Regions from separate parts of the Homo sapiens genome. Here all the other regions are linked to region 4. The links are contacts of gene promoters, found by promoter capture Hi-C in blood cells and fetal thymus (Javierre and others, 2016). All regions are on one chromosome and are shown on one strand. The core of a region is centred on a gene start or on the middle of the fragment in contact, and the rest is flanking DNA. Distances in the headings are between cores, read along the strand shown.

What was found. Contacts are between HindIII fragments. The CHiCAGO score rates a contact against its expected background, and 5 or more counts as called.
Region 1: a contact is called between a fragment that was not itself captured here and the fragment with the promoter of EQTN in region 4, in 1 of 17 cell types (M0 macrophages). The highest score is 5.1, in M0 macrophages.
Region 2: a contact is called between a fragment that was not itself captured here and the fragment with the promoter of EQTN in region 4, in 1 of 17 cell types (M2 macrophages). The highest score is 6.0, in M2 macrophages.
Region 3: a fragment that was not itself captured here is called in contact with the fragment with the promoter of EQTN in region 4 in 1 of 17 cell types (M2 macrophages); the score reaches 6.2 in M2 macrophages.
Region 5: a contact is called between a fragment that was not itself captured here and the fragment with the promoter of EQTN in region 4, in 1 of 17 cell types (neutrophils). The highest score is 6.2, in neutrophils.

Annotation. Positions count from the first base shown.
Region 1 is chr9:28,054,722-28,057,421 of GRCh38, reverse strand. All of the region lies in intron 6 of LINGO2 (leucine rich repeat and Ig domain containing 2), which reads left to right. Among named protein-coding and RNA genes, the nearest start is that of C9orf72, 480 kb to the right of the region's middle. The HindIII fragment of the contact is 1,354 bases long and covers 699-2,052 here.
Region 2 is chr9:28,097,695-28,100,394 of GRCh38, reverse strand. The region is part of intron 6 of LINGO2 (leucine rich repeat and Ig domain containing 2); the gene reads left to right. Among named protein-coding and RNA genes, the nearest start is that of C9orf72, 530 kb to the right of the region's middle. The HindIII fragment of the contact is 622 bases long and covers 979-1,600 here.
Region 3 is chr9:28,075,919-28,078,618 of GRCh38, reverse strand. All of the region lies in intron 6 of LINGO2 (leucine rich repeat and Ig domain containing 2), which reads left to right. Among named protein-coding and RNA genes, the nearest start is that of C9orf72, 500 kb to the right of the region's middle. The HindIII fragment of the contact is 1,570 bases long and covers 578-2,147 here.
Region 4 is chr9:27,295,779-27,298,478 of GRCh38, reverse strand. EQTN (equatorin) reads left to right here and starts at 1,329. Exons shown (of 8, transcript NM_020641.3): 1 at 1,329-1,499; 2 at 1,741-1,866. The coding sequence starts at 1,424. The HindIII fragment of the contact is 8,347 bases long and covers 1-2,700 here.
Region 5 is chr9:28,031,304-28,034,003 of GRCh38, reverse strand. The region is part of intron 6 of LINGO2 (leucine rich repeat and Ig domain containing 2); the gene reads left to right. Among named protein-coding and RNA genes, the nearest start is that of C9orf72, 460 kb to the right of the region's middle. The HindIII fragment of the contact is 2,911 bases long and covers 1-2,700 here.

The DNA of each region.
Region 1 (2,700 bases), core at 126-2,625, 760 kb before region 4:
TCCTCAAAAGCGCTTACTGGCAAATGGTTCCATAATTAAATAAGCTTGAGAAAGGCTGAATATGCTGTTTCCCTTTTGTAGATTTACAATACACATTATCATAAACAGGGTTCTGAGAAATCCTGCAATAAAAAAAAAAAACTTTACTTTTGCTTAACTTATTGGTTGCCAAATGCGTTAAATGTGGAATATATTTCAGCCCAAATCAGTTGGAATACCTCAGAAAAAAATAGTGTAGCCAGCATCTTAGTAGAACAGGCATAGACATCTTGGGTTAAGTCAGGTTTAACTTTTTGGTCTAACTGCATTCATTCATAAGCGCAACAGCCACTACTTCAAAATTAGAATAACAATCATTACATTATCATGTAGATTTTCATTTTATTTCTTGGTACTCTTTAGTTATTTTATATAGAATCATCAACACTATGGAAAGTGTTTCTGTGATTAACCTAAACCAAGACACTCTCTTAAAATCCAATATAATATCAAATTATGTGACAATTATGTAGCATGCTTAATCCAAGGTCATTTCAGTTTCTATCATTCTTGTATTTTAAAAAAGCATGAACTGAGAATTTGCACATGTCAAAGACACAATGACACTTCATTATAAAAGAAATGCCTAACAACTTAGCTTCTCTCTGTATATATCAGAATTCTTTGGAGTTGCAAGTGACGAAAGTAAAAGTCAAGCTTAAGCCACAGGCCCTGTCTCTTCTGCTCCATACATCTGCAGAACAGCTGGTGACATATCTAAGATCATTCTTAGAGCTGCAGATCCTAAATTATGGTTTTCTTGCTAGGTCCTGCCAGGGGCTAATTGGCTTTAGCCAATCACTGTGTAGGGTGCTGTATTCAGGTCTGAGCTGTATGCAAATCACTGAGGTATCCCTGGGATGTGAAGGTGGGTGGTGTAGATGAGAAGAACCACATGATATTCATTAAAGAGTATGGGAAACTAGTTTTCCCATGGAAAGAGTGCTGAGACAGGACAAAAACAATATTTAACTGATGGAGGCTGAAAGAATGAGGGTCGTGATCTACTGAATATACCACTGGAGGCTGTACGAGTAAACAGCAAACTGTTTCTCATAAATGCAAAATGTCAGCAAACTGACAAATTGAGTCTGCCACCCAGAAGGAATGCCGAGGGCAGTCACGCCCCAAGTGCAGTGTTTCTTGCCATTAGGCACATCTGAAGCCTGTTAGTAATAATATAAACCTGTTATCAATTAAGCAGCCGACCAATCGTTACCTGCTCCGCCCTGCTCTTGCTACACAATAAATAGGAAGGGCGGTAGACGCTCAGAGGTTGCCTTTGCTCACTGAAAGCGGGGAGCTCCTTTCTTTTTTCTCTGGATCTTTCCTTTAAAATAGTTTCTTTTGTCTTAAGTTTTCATTTCTATGTTCTTTCTTTTCGTCTCATAATGAAGGTCTCAAGTAGTAACAATAGTAACTGTTGTAATGATAGATTCAAGTAGTAACTGTCTTAGTGAGGGTCTCGAGAAGTAATCGTGGTAATCAGCCACATTTAACTTTTGCCAAATGCCTCCTTCGAAACCAAAGTAAGTTGTGAACAGACTAAGCAAGAAGACTTTTTTAGATAAAACTATATCCATAGGCTTCAAATAGAACTAAAGATAGCAATTTGAACTACTTAAACTTCCAAGAGAGACTTGTCTTTGAGTACATATCTTTTAAAGAATTTTAAGTAACAGGTAGTTAACAAAGAAGCATTTTGTTTTTTGACAATCTAGCAAACCTAACAAACTTAATAGCAAGACGCCGTTTTTATGTAAGCCTATGATAGAGAGAAAACATTTTGAGAAATTAGACTGAAGCCTTACACTTCGAACGAAGAATTCCAATTCAAAGTGGAAGTCACAGCCAATCCACAGAAGTACCTTACATTTTCCTAAAAGTGAACCTTACTCTCTTTTTACAAGTTCTTATTTTATGCAAACAGACTTGCTGCAAATGCCCTTATACCCAACAGAAATGTGGCAATAGCTAAAATAGCCTGGCCATTCAGACTCCTTGGCTGAAGCTTGTTTAGAGTTTATTTGAGCAGCCCTTTTCCATCCACCTGTACCTGTTCTATCAAGAAATTACTAAGCCATTTAAAACACATGTTATAAGCAACTACAGGGAAAAGGAAATCAGTTTGAGGCTTCTACCTTATTCGTAAGTTATTTTCACGTTCATAAGAAATTGTCTGCAGAAACTTAAAAAATTAAGCCAATTTACATAAGGATAAACCACAAGGAAAACAAAAGACTTCAGCATTTTGCTTTGAAATGCTTTCTGTAAGTAAAGCATTCTCCGGTTTTTGGAAATTTTTGATTACCATCTAGCTTCCCTCTGGGAGGCTATATATATTTTTTTTGCAAGTTTGTGCGTTTTGTTTTAATCAGAAAGCAAATTAAATTTCAGTAAAGCTTATGTAAGGAGTATTCACATTTAAGAGGAAAGAAGACTGTAGCTTTGTAGTATGAGGCATACAAAAAACAGGAATATGTGAAAGTAGTGCTTGGATATTTGAAAAGGCTCCATTTCTAAAATAAGGCATAACAACCTAAGGCTTAGATTTAGTATAGTAAACTTAAGGAAATATTGAAAATTAAAAATTAAGTTATAGCCTGGAATATGATCACTTATAATATGGTATTTGTGGATATCAATATAAGCTATTGGGTT
Region 2 (2,700 bases), core at 40-2,539, 800 kb before region 4:
GCTTACCTCCCTCTAAACTATGAGTTAGCTGTTTGAAAGCAGGGAGCATTGCATTTGTCTCTGCATATCTAGTGCCTAGCACATGCTAAGAGCTCACATTGTAAGAGATTTTTGTTGCTCTGAAATGTGTGGTGCACCTGCTATTACAGAAAGAGAAGCTTTCATGGGGACTCTATTGATTTTATTCATGATTTTATGTGTCAAATAATTTTGAACTTCCAATATATTTTAGGTACGATGCTAGGTGTGAAGTATATACCAGTGAATAAGACAATGTTTGCCCCCAGAGCTTTCAATCTAATGGGAAAACAGATTTGAAACAAATACTTCCACAATAATATTTTGAATATGATCTTGTTATGTGCTAAGAGCAGAAGTACATGATGCTATGATAGCAGAGAACACAGTAGATTTTCAGAGGTAAAAACATATTATTTGTAGAAGTAATATGATCACACTTGTAAAATGTGCAGCAATCAACTGAGTGAAAGAACATTCAGACAGAGGGAGCAGCATTAGTAAAGGGTCTGAGTTGAACAAGAGGACAGGAGGGCAAGAGCATGGCAACTTTGGGGGCAGTGGTGGAGAATGAAGTTGGAGAAGTAGGTTTTTTAAGACCAGATTTCTCCTGGCCTCAAAAGCCATTTTATCAGTGTGAATCAATATTTCATGAGGATAGTTTGGGTGTTAAGAGTGTTAAAGACTAATATTATCATATTTGCCTTTTAAAAATCATTCTTGCTTCAATAGAGAGTAGAACAAACATAATTCTGAGGTGACAGAACAGTATTGTGATAGTCCAAGTAGATACAGTGGTGGCTTGGGCCAGGATGGTGTCAGCTAAGATGGAGAGATTGGACAGTATCAATTTATCCCAATGGCTAAGTCAGTGAGAACTCTTCATTGATTCTATGTAGGAAAAAAGGGAGAAGATGAAGCCTAAGCTTCTTCTCCACTTGTCCACGTGGTATTTAAGCTTCCATCATGGAACAAACATTAGGGTATAAGAAAACAAAACAAAAAACAAGAAAGCACAGACAAATTGTATAAATATTTTTCAAAAATAAAAAGCCTTTTTGTTTGCTGATATTTTGTTGTATTTATTCAAATCCGTGAATTGGCACTTTAAAATAATCACTAGATGCTTTGCTCCACTGATAGTCAGTCCCAGGACACACAATAGGGGCTATGGCTTTTAGGTACAGATGAAAGATACCAAAAAAAAATCACCTGTAAGGAACCTTGTGGAGCTTTCAGATATTATGTTAATTTAACTAGTAATACTAATGTTATTGCTACTGTCCTATCTAGTACATACAGTCTTTCTATGCTATTAGCATAATGTTTTGAATTCAGAATCAATGTGACCTGAAGTTCCTATGGGTTTGTTTTCATTCCCTTACCCACCAGCTTCAGTGTAGCATGAAATACATTTCAAAGCCAGCCAAAAAGCCTAACTGAAGGTTACACAGGATGTTCACCCCATTTTTTTCAATAACACAAACATATTCACCATTTCCTCCCATATCAGCACCATCCATTATCAAAACATTCTGTATCTCAAATAAGCTGTGGACCCCTGTCAAGACAGGTGCAAGCTTTGCCTGCTCCACTTGACATATTCTGTGTAACATTCTCATTGTTTTGTGAACTCTTGATATTTTATAATGCTTAACACCTACCAACTGGTACTCTAAGCATCTCCACATGGGGCTTAGCATTCTTGACTCTTATAATTCACATGTGCCTTGGCCAGTGACCAGTATCCACACATAAAAATATCAGAATAACACAGAGGATATTTAGTATATAGACGAAAAAAGAAAGATCCATGCCTGAAGGATGTAACTACCCTACATCAGGAAAGGCCAGGTGCTAAGAAGTATATAATCTGATGTGAAAGTGCTAAGCAGACAGCAAGCCAAATTTGTGGTGCAGGTTTAGGAAACAGACAGTGACAAAGAAATATGACATGTTATAGATTTATTGATATATAATTCACATATTATACAATTCACCCATTAAAACGTAAAATTCAATGGTTTTTGGTATAGAGTTTTTTTTTGCTTTTTGTTTTTTGTTTTTTGTTTTTGACAGAGTTCGGCTCTGTCACCCAGGCTGGAGTGCAGTAGCAAGATCTCAGCTCACTGCAACCTCAGCCTCCTGCGTTCAAGCGATTCTTCTGCCTCAGCCTCCCTAGTAGCTGGGACCACAGGTGGATGCCACCACACCCAGCTAATTTTTGTATTTTCAGTAGACATGGAGTTTCACCATGTTGGTCAGACTAGTCTCAAATTCCTGACCTCAAGTGATGCACTCTCCACGGCCTCCCGTAGTATTGGGATTACAGGCATGAGCCACTGCACCTGGACTTTGGTATCGATTTTTAAAAACATCTTTTTATTAAAATAGAATGAATGAAGAGAAGCATTGGCTAAGCAAGGCCTGTTGGCAGACTTTCCTTAAACTAGGTATCCAGCTCATCTCATCCTTTCCCTATAAGCTCCCTTCAATTTTTTTTAAGAGGTTGTGTATCTTTTATTTTTTTATTTCATTATTATTATATTTTAAGTTTTAGGGTACATGTGCACAATGTGCAGGTTAGTTACATATGTATACATGTGCCATGCGGGTGTGCTGCACCCATTAACTCGTCATTTAGCATTAGGTATATCTCCTAATGCTATCCCTCCCCCCTCC
Region 3 (2,700 bases), core at 113-2,612, 780 kb before region 4:
TCAGCCTCCCAAAGTGCTGGGATTACGGGCATGAGCCACCACGCCCGGCAGAGTCTAGAGATCTTAACCCAAAATAAAGCAAGGTCAATATAACATAATTTGTCAATAAGGCATATATGGTAGCTCCTAGGATCACTATTCTTTTTCCATGTGCTCACAAATCCTAAAAAAAAATAGTCTATTTAAAAATCAGATTTAGACATTTCTTTAAGTTCTCTAAAGTTTTTTTCATCATCATATTGTCCTAATCAGTCCTTTAATACCTATTCTGCTCTCCATATTCCTCAAACATTGCTGGTAGCAACTCTGCAAACTAAACTGCACATCCTCTCAGTTGCCCTGCATGCCTGCAGTTCTATCTGGGCAGGAGACACACACTTCCTGAGTGTTAACTCATCTTGTTGGGCTTCAATTTCCTCTCGCAAATATCTGCTCCTCTTACTAGCCTGACCATCCTTCTCACTGGCAGAAATGATGGAATATAAATAGGAGTAAAAGGGTTATGTTTTTCTCTGTCAATACATTACCAGCATATTTTAAGGCAAGAGCCATTATTTATTTGTTTATTTGTTAAGCTTTAAGTTTTACAAAAAAAGATATGTTAAACCACCACTTAACCATAACACATATGGCAGACAGATTACAACCACATCATTCTCTAGAGTTGACGCTTAATCATGAAATCAGGCCTGCTCTTTTCCTTCAAAGAAGCAGTAGAGTAGGTTCATTTTCACAAAGACAAGTAACTGAAAATTGAGCATGAGGTTATTAGATTGAGGATTCTTCCTTTTCTTATCTTTCTTTTCTACTTCTTTCTTCTTTCTTCTCTTTCTTTTTTTACAACCATATCAAATAATAAAGTAAAACCATTGAAAAATCTCTAGATAACATTGGAGTGGGTTTTGGTTTTTATTTTTTTGCATCTTTTCTACTCAATTTAGCTGACATTTTAATGAAACTACTCTTCCCCAAGTAATTAAATAGCATACTTGCATTGCAATTGCCTTCATAGCCTGAGAGTTTTTGTTATCTCTATGAAAAAAATAAGATAATAGTTTTGATGCATTTACTTAAATAGGAACATGGGTTCCCAGAACACAGATGGACTTAATAATAGTTTTAAGTGAATGAATGAATCCATGAGTGAATAAAATGTGACAAATGTATATAAAGTGTATACATGTGGATTCATAAGCTGTCCAACCCGTATCCTTTGCTATAAGATAGTATACAAAATGGGAGCACATTTTTGTAAGACTCACTTGATTAGATGAAAATATATTTCATGATTTTCTGGGAAATAATTCATCATACTCAACAAACTCTATCTCTTTACTGGGCCTTACTCAACTCTTACTTCCTATCTAAGATTTTGTGGTACTTGTATGTATGTATACCATTTAGTGGAAACACATCTTGGTGGTCCATTGACTGTCAGTTTTCTTGTGATTTCAGACTGGTTTTTATTTTTCTGACCACATGTTCACATCGCCAAAATGTTTTTGTTTTAGAGTCACTTACTGTAGTTTTCTATGGGGTAGAAACCAGTAAGCTGTGCAGTCAAACTTCATTAAGTCACGTCAAAATGTTGGTAAAAAGTACCCCTACTTACTTCTGTCACTATGCATTCCCATTTTCAACCTTACTGCACAATTTCCAATGTCTTTTGTTGGAAACCAGAACAAACAATGAAATAATAGACATTAGAATTTCAAGAATGAACCCCTTGGTTTATCCCCTAAAAGCAGCCAGAGGGGAAAAGATGGCTCCCCTACAAAGCATCAGAAATGAGTTTGACAGGTAACTTTTCACCAACAACTGTGGAATCCAGAAGCCAGTGGAATGGACCTTTAATGTGCTCCAAAGATAGCTGACAATCAAAAATTTGAAACCCAATAAAACTATGGTTTTAAGAACCAGAGGGAAATAAATTCCATTCCAGAATTTTTTTTTAATTTATCAGCAAAAGACCTTAACTTCCTAGAGAATGTTTCAGAAGTAAATAATTGACATCAGAGAAAATCTGACATGAAGAAAGGAATGTGATCAAAAATAAAATAAGACATACTTGTTGGGAGATTTAAACCTATTCTTAAAAATAAACATCATAACATCTAACTTGTTGGACTAAAATGAAAAAAAAAGCTTGAGGTAAAATATAAAAAAGCTATGCAATGTAAGCTAGGAAGAGATCAGAATTAAAATGTTTTCAGATATGTTTACTGTTTGGGGGGAAGTTAAAGACACTGATTAACTTTAGATTTTATTAAGTATGCATGTTCATGCTTCAATGGTATCAATTAACAGAATGGAGCTAGTGTATTTAAATACCAAACCAGTAGGTATAAAAAGAAATGAGAAACAAAAAGATCAACCAAACATATTTTCAGTTAAAATCCCAATACAGTTCTAAGATAGTATTTAGAAGAGCAAAGGCTCTGAAAATATAATTTGTGAAGAAAATGTGGGGTGAATTGTGGTACCAGATTTTAAAGATTGATTTTAAAACAATAGTAATTAAGACAGGATATCCTGCTGCAGGAATAGACAAATAGCATGTATGACAGGCATAATATTGCAATTATTAGGAAGAAGATGAGCCATTCAATAGATATTGCTAGAATAATTGTTAATCTATATGGGAAAAAGGCATATTTACTTCAAACTAATGCACAGCACAAAAAGCAAAAATATTAAAGG
Region 4 (2,700 bases), core at 80-2,579:
AAAGCCATATGAAATATAAATACATATAAGACCTATATTTTATATATTATATAATTATATATTTTATAAAATATATAATATATTTATATAACTAATATATAATATGTTATTATTAATTATTTATATAATATAGGCCTTAAAATCTAAAAATGACCAGTTTTAGAGAACTTTTCTAAAGAATTATAGTTAAGATAATCCATTAACCAGAACTTGTAGACTTGTAGGGCATTTGGCATCAGAACTTGGTTTTTCTGCCTAGTTGTTTTTTTTGTTTTGTTTTTTGTTTTTTGTTTTTTTTTTTGGAGACAGAGACTCACTTCTTCACCCAGGCTGGAGTGCAGTGGTGTGATCTCGGCTCGCTGCAAACTCTGCCTCCCATGTTCAAGCACGTGGGCCACCACGCCTGGCTAACTTTTGTATTTTTAGTAGAGATGAGGTTTCACCATGTTGCCCAGGGTGGTCTTGAACTCCTGACCTCAAGTGATCTGCCCACCTCAGCCTCCCAAAGTGCTGGGATTACAGGTGTGAGCCACTGCGTCCAGCCTCTGACTAGTTTTTAAAAGATATTTTTATTGCATTTATCCAAGAAAACACATCATATTGCAATGCTTTGAGAAACAAAAAGATCTGTTCTCATTTTACTCTTAACAATATTAATGGTTGCAGGGAGCCGAAGGCTCGTGGGACGTGAGCCACTCAGCATTCCACTGGAGGCTATATGATCAAACAGCAAACTGTTTATTATGAATGCAGGATGTGGGCAAACTCACGACTGCTCCTGCCCACAGAAGGTTTGCTGGAGGCAATCACTCCCTGGCACCGAGGTTATCTACTGCGACATCTAGAGAATGCAGTGTTGCATGCCTACTCTGGACCGGGCAGCTGACCCCTTCTTCCATCCTCCTTCTCACTATCTCTCTTGCCTAATAAATACAGAGGGCTGTGTAAAGCTCAGGGCCCTTGCCCACTAGAGGCAAGGTGCCCCCGACCCCTTCTTCCAAATATACTCTTTTGTCTTTGTCTTTTATTCCCGCATTCGTCCCCCTTTGTTCAGTCCCCTAGGTCCGTGCGGGTTACAAGTGGCACCCTGACTAGCCACAGAATCGAGTGCTCTACAAATGGTTCTTTAAAATCCAGAGCCGAGTAATTAACATTCTTTTATGAAAACACACTTATTAACTTTCAAAGAAAATCTTGTAATGGTTTATTTAAAAAATAACTAAAAACCATTATAGTACCTGAGATAAAGCAGTCTTCAGACTGAGTCACAAAGCTGTTGGGAACCCCCACCCCCACCAACATTCTGATGCCCATCTGACAGTGATGTCATAATGTCCTAGTTAGACACAGGACCTGCTGGGCCACAGAAAGGAGGCTCTGGGTAGACGCACTAGATTACTGGATAAATCACTTCAATTTCCCAATGAATTTTATATTGTTTATTTTTATACCTGGAGTTTTTTCCTTAAAAAGTAGCACTTTGAAGCCTACTATTGAAGGTGAGAGAGCATTTAAAACTTTTATAAAAATAGTAGGTAAGAAGGATGACCCATAATCATGAAAAATTGGTATGTGGCAGTTTTCTACAGGAGGATATAAACTTTATTGTTGGAGCTATGGTATGTTTTAGATTTTAAATCTCTGCCTCTAATCCTTTGTGAAAAAAATGCAGTTAGAAAAAGAAAGCAGTAAAAGAAATCAACATATTTCTGATCTATGGTGTGTGATACTTTTTTTTAGCATTGCCTAATGTGCTACCTTTAAATGAAGATGTTAATAAGCAGGAAGAAAAGAATGAAGATCATACTCCCAATTATGCTCCTGCTAATGAGAAAAATGGCAATTATTATAAAGATATAAAACAATGTAAGTCTTTAAAGTGAATAGAAATGTATATGCAAAAGTTGATTATCCTGGTTTCACTTAAGTGTCCTTTTTAAATTTCCATCATTTCCCCCTGTATTTGTTGGGTATTTTATTTCTACTTCTGTGACCTGCCTGTTCATACCCTTGCCCATTTTTCCATTAGGTTGTATTTTCATTTCTTTTTAAGGGCTCTTTTTATGTAGAATATATTAATCCTTTTTACGGTAAAAGTAATAAATGTTTTCTGCCAAGATGCTGCTTATCTTTAAGGCTTATTTTATTTTATTGTATCGTATTCAGTTTTTGAGACAGAGTCTTGCTCTGTCACCCAGGCTGGAGTGCAGTGGCACGACCATGGCTCACTGCAGCCAGCCTTGACCTCCCAGGGTTCAAGCAGTCCTACCACCTCAGCCTTCCGAGTAGCTGGAACTATAGGCACATGCCATCACACCAAGCTAATTTTTGTATTTTTTTTGTAGAAACGGTGTTTCATCATGTTGCCCAGGCTGGTCTCCAACTCCTGGGCTCAAGCGATTCACCCATCTCACCCTCCCAAAGTGCTAGGATTACAGGTGCGAGCCACCACACCTGGCCAAGCCTGTTTAAGTATCTTTAATAACTGAGAAGATTTCAAGTTTTATAATATCAGTTCTGTTTATTTATTTCTTTATAATCTCTGCATTTTGTGTCTTGCCTAAGCAGGCTTTATCCAGTCCAAAATATTGTTTTCTTGAATTTTAAAAGTAATTTTATCGTTGTTTTTTTTTTTTTTTTTTTTTTTGAGACGGAGTCTCGCGCTGTCGCCCAGGCTGGAGTGCAGTGGCGCAATCTCTG
Region 5 (2,700 bases), core at 179-2,678, 740 kb before region 4:
CTACAGAAGCTCATACAAATGAACAGCCCCTTCTTAGAGAAGGTGATATTGAAGTGTGTTTACAAGAATAAAACGCACAAGGGCCCACTGGAAAGGGCTGGACTTGGGTGTGGGGGATGGGAAATCCTTGTTGACTGAACAAATGTCCTTCAAGTGAACTATACATGACTTGGGTTGCATTCACTTCAAACTCTCACTGAAGTCAGCTACATCTTCTGTCTTCCTAACGAATTTAGCAGATTATCCTGGTTATACTTTTCAATAAGTTTCACACATGATGTGAGCTTTGTAAGGATGGTATTAAATTGGGGCAGAATAGAAACACTGCAAAAAATTTTGAAGTAATTTTTTTTTTGCCATTATAAAAGTAATCCATCCTCAAAATATAAAAAAACTAGGAGAGAAAGCATCAGTCCATGATGAAATTACCTAATTGACATTTTGGTGTGTTTACTTTCCAGTAGCCTTTTACAACTATACCGTGGCAGTTTATTCTCCTAGTGCTCTGCCTCCCCTTCCCACCAACTAAAGCTGTTGATGGTTCTCTCCTGCACAGGTTTCAGTAGGGCAGAACAGCAGGCCAGTGCAAGTGGGCAAGAACCTTTGATGACTGCTAATAAGAGATCCCCCTCCCTAGCATTGCCACAGTGTCTCCAACATGCTCCCATTTCGGAGGGTACTGACTCTTGCCCCACCCCCATCACTGAGCTTCTTTTGACTCTGGAATGTAACATGTATAGTTCTGAAGACAAGCCATAGGAATTCAATGAGATTTGGTAAAATTCATGCACACCTATTTAGTGTAACACACTGTGCAAGCCCACTGAACATTTGCAAAGGGAATGGAAGGCACAATTCACATACGCAACTAACAACGTAAGTAAAGGGATCATAGCAGCAAATGCAGAGGGTTTCAGGCTTTGTATTAGCTGCAACAGTACTGGCTTCTGTCTACACCATGTTTTCTAGTATTCTAGAACATTTCTCATCTGATTTGAGAGCCGCAAGGATTTCATATGGATAAATTATCAGAGAAAGAATGAAGCTGACTGGGATGCTGTCTCCTAAAACTTTCAGGCACAAATCTTTCTCAGACAAAAGAAGGCAGCCGCCTGATGGAAAACTTTATTTTAAAATTGTATCCCTTCTGTTGTACAGTGTTTCCCTGATGTGGCACCATCTACTAGACCCAAACCAAAGTAGAACTTTTCAGGGACACAGTGTCCATTGTCATGGGGTGAAAATGTGGAGTGTTTCTGGCAGGATCTATGTCACTGTATGCTCACTCATGGGTTATAGGTTTTCATTCCAAGATTCCTGGTCTGTCGCCAACTAGTTCTGGGACGATGGGCAGGATGTTTGAACATTTTGGGTCTCAGTGTTTTCATCTGTAAAAGGGACTAAAAACATTTATGTTGCCTCCTTTGTCAAGCTGCTTTCAGTACTGAATGAGAATGCCCAAAGGCACTGAGAGATGGAAGATATTTCTGGCACCTGGTTCTCTTAAGCTGTAACTAGATTCACCATTGATTGCCTGGAATCATAAGGCATGAGCAGTTAGTTATGTGAATCATATGTAATGTTGACAAAGACAGGAATCTCCCTCTGCTAAGGCAGTGGGAGCCCATCTGTGATCAGCATTCCTATAGCCCTGGAGACTGAGGTGGGGTGCTGGGCAGCGAGGGCAGGCAGTGTGTGCGCTTTCATAATAGAGCAACAAATGCTTCCTCAAACCAAGTACCAAGAGAAAACAGCCTGCACCTGGACCTGGGTTTTTATCATGTTGTATTTTTTTTTTAAGACTTGAATTAGATCCTGTGTGGAATTGTGAATGCCCATATTACCTACTTCATGACAGGACAGCAGAGCAATCGGTTTTCAAAGGCCAAAGCTGTTTTTATTTTCCCCCCAGCTCTGCGGTTTTTCTTTGCTGTCTTCATCCCAGTGAGGCTTTCCCCCCCCACCCCTCATTTTGAGTCAGCAGACTGCTAGTAACAAAGGTACCCAGCTGTTCTCTGAGCCCTAATCTCCAAACAACTTTTAATAGGTACTGCCTGCCTGGCACACAGTTGGCTGTCACAATAATACACCAGATTGAAGGTATTTTAAGGAGGATTTGGAGCATCATGGTGAAGCGTGGTTTTACCCAACAGTTTAAGAATAGAATCACTAATATCTCTCTGTAATGATCTGTTTTCCTTTGATAGACAAGTGTGTGTTCTGGACAGCTTGCTGCCATACAGCACTGAAAGGGAGCTGGCAGAGGTCTCCCAGGTATTCCCAATCAGCCCTGGACAAACAATAATCGGCTTAGCCGACACAGACAGAGCAGATCATAATTATCTCAACTAATCTCATCCCAAAACCAATGTTGTGTGGCAGACACCAGACTGTCCCCACTTTAAAGATGAGGAAAGTGAGTGAGAAGTAGCTAAGGTCACACAGCAAGTAAGTGGCAGATCCTAGATTCCTACTAAAGCAATCTGATGCCATCAAAATCCATCAGCTTTTTAGAAATTTGTAAGGTGATGGATTCAATTAGATTGATTTAATCATTCCACAATGTAAACATAAGTCAAAACATATTGTAACCCATAAATATAATTATGTCAATGTTAAATTTTTTAAAAATTGTAAAAAAAAAAAAAAACCATCCTGTTTTTCTACTGAAGTGGGTATAAAGAGACTGCTTAATATATG